Regions from separate parts of the Homo sapiens genome. Here region 2 is linked to region 1. The links are contacts of gene promoters, found by promoter capture Hi-C in blood cells and fetal thymus (Javierre and others, 2016). All regions are on one chromosome and are shown on one strand. Each heading gives the region's core, a stretch centred on a gene start or on the middle of the fragment in contact. The rest is flanking DNA. Distances are from core to core; before and after follow the strand shown. Region 1 holds the start of SH3YL1 (SH3 and SYLF domain containing 1). Region 2 has its middle 26 kb from the start of LINC01874.

Region 1 (3,281 bases), core at 309-2,808:
ATTTAAGCTGGAAAGTTCCTGAAAAGCCATTAATAAAATACACTTTCATTTTTCATGGGCCAAAGTTATATAGGGACCTCCAGGTCTCCTTTGCTTGGCTTTTACAATCAAGAAACCCGAAACCGTAAAACTTCATCTCCCTTTAACTCAGATCCCTATCTAAGCATGGGCTAAGGAAACTAGCAAACAAAACAATGTTGTCATAGGACTCAGGAGGCCCCTAAGAGACCACATCAGTCCGACAACCTCCAGGCCTACCTGGGCCCATTGGAGGGGAACGAGAGGGATTCTAGTAGTCGCAAAGAAAGTACCTTGGCTTGTAGGGGCTGTGGCTGCAGATGCCAAGAGCCCCGGATATATGGCAGGCGCGAGGGGACCCAGGTTTAGCGGGCAGGCTGGGCGGGTGCACGGGGCGGATGGGGAACAGGGGCGCTGCGGCACACTCCTAGAACACCCTAGGCCTCCCAGTCCCTGGCCTCCTCCCCCTCATGGTTCCTAGGCCGGCGGCACAACCTACAGCGCACAAGCCCGATCCAACTCTCCAGAGGACGTCAGAACATGAGTAAGTCGGCGCCCTCTTACCCAGACACACAAACAGCACGGACTTGGTAGCCTGTTCCGCCATCTTCCCGCGCGCAGAGGCGCCGAGACACCGCGGCGTTCCGCACGCCGACGCGGCGCAGGCGCACTGCCACCCTCTTGCCCCGCGCGCCTGCGCAGTCCCGCACCAACGCCAACAGGGCAGCGCGTGTGAGAGCCACGCCTGCGCAATCGGCTCCAGTGCGCCTGCGGAGGCGGTCCTATGACGGTAGTAGGACGGGCGGGGAGGGTCCGCGGGTCACCTGCAGGGACTGGGCCGCCGTTCACCTGCAGGGGCGGGGCTGCAGGTTGTCCGGAGGAGGAGGAGCTGCGGGGGTGGGGTCACCTGGAGGGAGTAGGGCCGCGGAAGGCGAGGGGGTGTGTGTGTGTGGTGGCGGGGGTTGGCGGGGGGGAGTCACCTGGAGGGGGCGGGGCTGCGGGTCGCTTGGAGGGGAAGGAGCCGCGGGAGGTAAAGGTTACCTATAGGGGACGGGGCCGCAGGAGAGGGGTACCTGGAGGAGGAAGGGCCGCGGGTCACCTGCAGGGCGGGCTCAGGCCTCGCGGCTCCGCGGGCCGCCCACCTGGGTTGGGGCACAGCGCGAGTCTCGCGCACGTGGCGGGCTGTGGTGCCTGTCGTTCGAGTTCGCATAGAGGGGCTGGGCGGGTCACGCGGGGAACCTGCCTTGAGCCCCGCGGGGTCCACGCCGGACCAGGGCGGCCTTGGGCCTGGGCGCTCCCTGAGACCCCCACCCCCAACACCGTGCTTGGAGCCGCCGCGGGGCTCTGGGCTTTTCGATCTTGAGGACGGGGCGGTTCCGAAGTCCCTGAGGGCGAAGGCCTGAGCGCGGCCCGGCGGGCGCGTGGTTTTTGTCCCGCGAAACGTACACGGCGGGTGTTTTGCGCCGCCTCCTTCGTCACCTGCCGCAGGTACGCCCTCGCTGGGGCCTCCTTGTCCGCGGGGCGGGGCAGCGCGCCTTCCTCTTCCTGGGCAGCCTCGGGACGGGGCGCCGCGGCCGGGCGGGCAGCAGTGAGTACCCGGGGACCCACCTGTCCGGCAGCACCCTCCCCTCTCAAGAGCTGGGCGGTGGTGGGAGGAGGAGGACGGGAAAACCGGCGATGCCTCTGGGGTTTCTAGGTCGCGCGTCTGTTAACCGCAAACCGCCCAAAGTTAAGATAGAGCAGCTTCCAGGACTTTCTTGACCACAGCGATTTTGATTGAAGTTTAGCCACCGTCTTTTCCATTTTTAGAAAAGCTATTCCGAAGTTTGGAATGATGACGATGGTCGTGTTATTTTTAACTTCCTGATATTTGAACGGCGAGGTGTCAGCGACCATCCTTCCGTTCCACAGAAGCGTCTCTGAAGTTTGGGTCGAATGCGCGCGCTTGGAATGTGCGTGGAACCCGCGGCAGGCGCGGGGAGGAGGCCTTGGCTAGGGCGCCGGCGAGGTTCGAGTTTGCCAGCCCCCCAACCTGGAAGAGAAGGGCCAGCCCCTCACACCCGGAAGGGAAGGGCCGGTCCCCCCAACACCTGGCGCCGGGGTCGCGGGGCCACAGGGCGAGCGCGGGGTCGCGGCGAGCACGGGTCCTCTCTGATCGCTGGGCCTTGGCGCTGGCTGCTGAGTTTTTCCTTCTTTAAGGAAGTGTGGAACTGGTCTCAATCGGTTGACCACCTTAAGGAAATAGGATTTACACTGTGGACAGAGATGTGTCCTTTACACTTCATTTGAACCAATATGCCCATGCTCCTGTGGAGGCTGAGTTGGAAAGTGACACGAAGCTGCCCCCCCGCAAGAGAGCAGGTGCTCGGTTTCTCTTCTGCTTACAGGAGATGCATGTCCTGATTTCTTGTTCTCCTAGGTGTTTTTATTGAGATGTAGGGAATATCTGAATTCATAACGACTTAGAAAATCTGTACACACAGTTGAGAGAACAGGTCTCGAGGCTAAGGTGCTGTTTACTCCCGTGGGCTGGCCTGTTATTAAAATACTTGTGCAGCGACTGATGTTTACAAATTACTATGTTGGAGGTTAAAATGATCAAAGTGATAACCTCCATCCTGTCTATCATGTTTGAGGAGAATTGGTTATTTGGTTCACTAATGTTCTGTTTAAAGAAAATTTCTGTAAAACTAGTAAATGTTACCCCTCATCTTTTGTAAGTTAAAAAAAAGTTTAAAATAATGTTTGCTCATCAAAAGTGATTTGATACTTTTGTTCTGTTTAGGAAAACTTTATTCTCAAGAGATTTCTCATTCCGCAGAAATAAGGATCTGGCATGTCAACACAAACATAGGAAGTTGAGGCAGTCAAAGGGAAATAACTGCTACCCTGACTCTGCTGAGAGCCTCACAAGTCCCTGTGCACGCCAGCTTGTTTGCCAGTGAGTGGCGTCATGATAAGACAAAATTCTCTGCTCTGAGACCTAAGCACATGAAGTTTTTAAAAAAATTTTCTCTGAGAAGATCCCATTTTTTACTCTAAAAGATCAGACCAGTGTGGCATGTGTGGAACTGCTCTGTACCAAGATCACACTCTTCAGTTGGAGAAGAGGAAGGGCAGGAATAAATAAAGGGCTTTCCTGTCTCCCGAGGGAGCAGAGAAAGCTTTCGCTGTCCTCTTCCTTCCCCAGCCACAGCCTGGGGTTGGGGGACTGGAAACAAGCTCAGGCTAGCACTTGATGTTCAGACGGTAGTCTGAAAGTT
Region 2 (3,281 bases), core at 411-2,910, 200 kb before region 1:
AGTGGCGGTGCAGGACGAGGCCCCTTCACCTCCGCTCTAAACCCTGGAGAAGGCGCTGGGGGTCTCGGGGAGGCAGGAGGTGGGAGTGCGCCCCGCAGCCTCCTAAGACCGCCCCCCGCCCCCCGCTGCGTCCTGCACAGGGAGCTCCAGGCTGTTGCAGGAGGATGCGGGAGGCGGGGTTCAAGGGGCGCGCAGGAGCCCCGGAGGCGCGCGCTGCTTTGCAGCTCCTAAGGCTGTGCCGACGTAGGGGACCTCACCCGGGGCTTGGGAAGCGCACCCCTGATTTATAAGCAGCGCGTGCTGAGCGGTCGCGGCTCAGTCCGGTGCAGCTGAGGGACCAGGGCTCCCTGGACGGCCTCGCCCGCGCGTCCTCGGTCATTGCGTTTGTCCGGGGAGCTTGCGCGGCGTCTCCCGGCTCCCTGGGCGGGCTCTGCGCCCCAGGCCCCGCGCTCACTCTGGCTCGGTGTCGACCCCCTCGCTGGCCCATGCAGCCTCGTCCTGCCCCTCGCGGCTCCTCCGCCCTGGTTTCTGCGTCCTTCCCTCATCCGCTCGCCACAACCCGGCGGAGCTGCCCAGCCCAAGGTGCAGTGTGCGCCCCTGGGACGCGCCTCTGAGAGCCACGAGGGCCCTGAATGCACAGCGCGGGAGTTTCAGGCCCAGGAGTGACCGCCTGCACTTGCGCGCTCATTAACTCTTCTCTGCCTGCCTGGGCCCCCGGCGTGAGTGGGAATCACGGCCCACGGACGCCTGGGATGACTCGGCCTTGCGCCCCGGCGTGCAGCAGGTCTCTGGGCAGGTCTCTGGGCGCAGCGAACCCTGGTCTGCCGGGAGCTCCTTCTTGACCTTCCTTCCTCCACAAGAAGGGAGCGCCTCCCGACAGGCCACAGGCTACATCATTTTGGATTATGCAATAAAATGCTTGGTTTGTGCGCGTACAAGGGCACCAGCTAATGCCCCAGGGCAGGGCTTACTGTGGCCACTGCTGAACCAAATAAAAGCCCACGTGATGTGGAAACTGCATGGAATAATACGTTGTCTGGACAGGCGTCACTTACAAATCTCGAGACCGGGTTCTTTGTGTAAATGGTACTTTACTTTTAAACAGTTTAGGAAAAGCCCAGTTATCTTTCATTCACACGCCTGTTCTCTGTCCCGGGTGGGTGCCCCTGCTGAGCGGACAGAGCACCACCCCCACCCATGCAGGGGCCACAGAGCCAGCTCCGGGCGGGGCGGGGAGGGCCTCTCCACTCCCCATAGCTCAGGAGCTGCTCTCCCTGGCAGGTGGGCTGCCAGGAAGGGTGAACAGGAGGAGGCTTTGGGGCCAGGCCCGCGGGGACCCTAGAGGAGCCTGTGCAGTCCCAGGAAGAGAAGAAGCTGGAGAGGGATTTCTCCCTGCCGGCTCCAGACGCATCTGCACAGCCTCCCAGGGCCCAGGTGGGAGGGAGGACGGGTTCCTGCAGCTGCCTGATGGGGACACTGGGGCGCCTGCCGATCGCAGACCAGACCTGGACACGTGGGTTCAACTCTCTGCATTTCGAATTCAGTTTTTCTAAGACGAAATAATGCCAGGATCCCTCTGCGGGATCGTTTCGAGGATTAAAGGAATTTATTAAGGGGCAAGTGCAGAAGGGAGCCGGGCAGCCAGTACATCTGATGTCATTGGTGGTTCTGAATAGTTTCTGGTATTTTATTCAAAATGTTAAAATATTTCATTTAAAACGTAGGCTTTGGTTTGTAGTGTGAGTTAGGGATCCAATAACAGGCAGAAAAAAAAATCCTTGCCAGAAAAATAAATAGACGGTGAAATAGTCACACAGTAAAGGGTTGGTTAACAGTGAAGAAGGATGAAGGCAAGATGCTCACGGTCCCGTGAACGAACCTTCGGAACTCGGAGGAGACTGGAAATTCCTAGCGAGTGAAACGCTACCTTAGAGGCCCTCAGGGCCGGGTGCTGTGGCTCACGCCTGTAATTCCAGCACTTTGGGAGGTCGAGGCGAGTGGATCACAAGGTCAGGGGATCGAGACCATCCTGGCTAACACAGTGAAACCCCATCTCTACTATCAGTACAAAAAATTAGCTGGGCGTGGTGGCGGGCACCTGTAGTCCCAGCTACTCGGGAGGCTGGGGCAGGAGAATGGCGTGAACCCGGGAGGCGGAGCTTGCAGTGAACCGAGATCGCGCCACTGCACTCCAGCCTGGGCGACAGAGCCAGACTCCGTCTCAAAAAAAAAAAAAAAAAAAGAAAAAAAGAAAAAAAAAGAAGTCCTCAGGTCCCCCTTAACAGATGAGGAATGAAGATCAGGGGCTACAGTCATCAGAGATAACCTCCATGGTGAAAAATAGACAGCTGGGTGTTGGAAGGCCTGAGCGTGATGAGATTCCCGTCTATCTGGTGACTGGAAGGCGCCGTTTCTTCCATGACTGAAATGGACACATTCATTTTTTTGTCTACTTCTCAAGGGAAATGTGTGGCTCGGCTGAAACAGCAGGAAATCTGTGAAATCCTTCGCAAACACCAGCTATTCAAGCTATTTTTAACCCTGAACTAGAAAACAGGTGTCTCGCCTATTGCCAGCCCTTAAGAGAATAATTAAAACAGTTGCTTCAAAATGTGGAAACTTCAGGATTGATTAAAATGTTTCTCAGTGTCAGGATTGATTAAAATGTTTCTCAGCGTCCTAGGGGCAGGGATGTGGCGTGATGGGCCCACCTTGTGTACATGCTGTGGTGGGACAGCGTTGTAAAAACACGTTTATTTGTAGAAAAGTACTAAAGTCAGGACGGCTTTTTATAGAATGACCTCAAGTTTTACAATTTTTCGTCATATATAACACAAGCGCCATTTTCTTTGTTTTAAATAAATTTCCTGGTTGTATGCATCCTCAAATATTCTGAAACAGCCTTCCGCAGAACCACAGACCTGGATGTAGCTAGTCGATCAAACAGACCCTGAGCCCAGTGGAGGCTTACGCATCTGGAAATCCTGGTTTCCAAATTATGTGACCTTTTTCTGCCTTATGTCATAATTAGAATTGTTATGAAACAGATTAAATTCTTTATTGAGCATATAGACGGCTGAGAAAGATAAGCAGAGCCCAGGTTTTTCAAGTGGGCAAAGTCACAGGCATCCACACGGCCAGCTACTTCTCATTCGCTCTTCAGCCCCTATGTTTGATGACCTACCACCACAGAGCGTCTCTGAGAAGGGCCAGGAGCTCTGAGAACAAAACAGACACCGTCCCTGAACCTTCGACGCTTTCACATAAAAATAAACTCTCCT

What was found. Contacts are between HindIII fragments. The CHiCAGO score rates a contact against its expected background, and 5 or more counts as called.
Region 2: a fragment that was not itself captured here is called in contact with the fragment with the promoter of SH3YL1 in region 1 in 1 of 17 cell types (naive B cells); the score reaches 6.0 in naive B cells.

Annotation. Positions count from the first base shown.
Region 1 is chr2:262,309-265,589 of GRCh38, reverse strand. SH3YL1 (SH3 and SYLF domain containing 1) reads left to right here and starts at 1,558. Exons shown (of 10, transcript NM_015677.4): 1 at 1,558-1,606. The coding sequence starts at 1,606. ACP1 (acid phosphatase 1) reads right to left here and starts at 643. Exons shown (of 6, transcript NM_004300.4): 1 at 583-643. The coding sequence starts at 625. RefSeq lists an enhancer at 533-582 and silencers at 933-1,012, 1,083-1,662. The HindIII fragment of the contact is 12,050 bases long and covers 1-3,184 here.
Region 2 is chr2:465,345-468,625 of GRCh38, reverse strand. No RefSeq gene overlaps it. Among named protein-coding and RNA genes, the nearest start is that of LINC01874, 26 kb to the left of the region's middle. The HindIII fragment of the contact is 8,460 bases long and covers 1-3,281 here.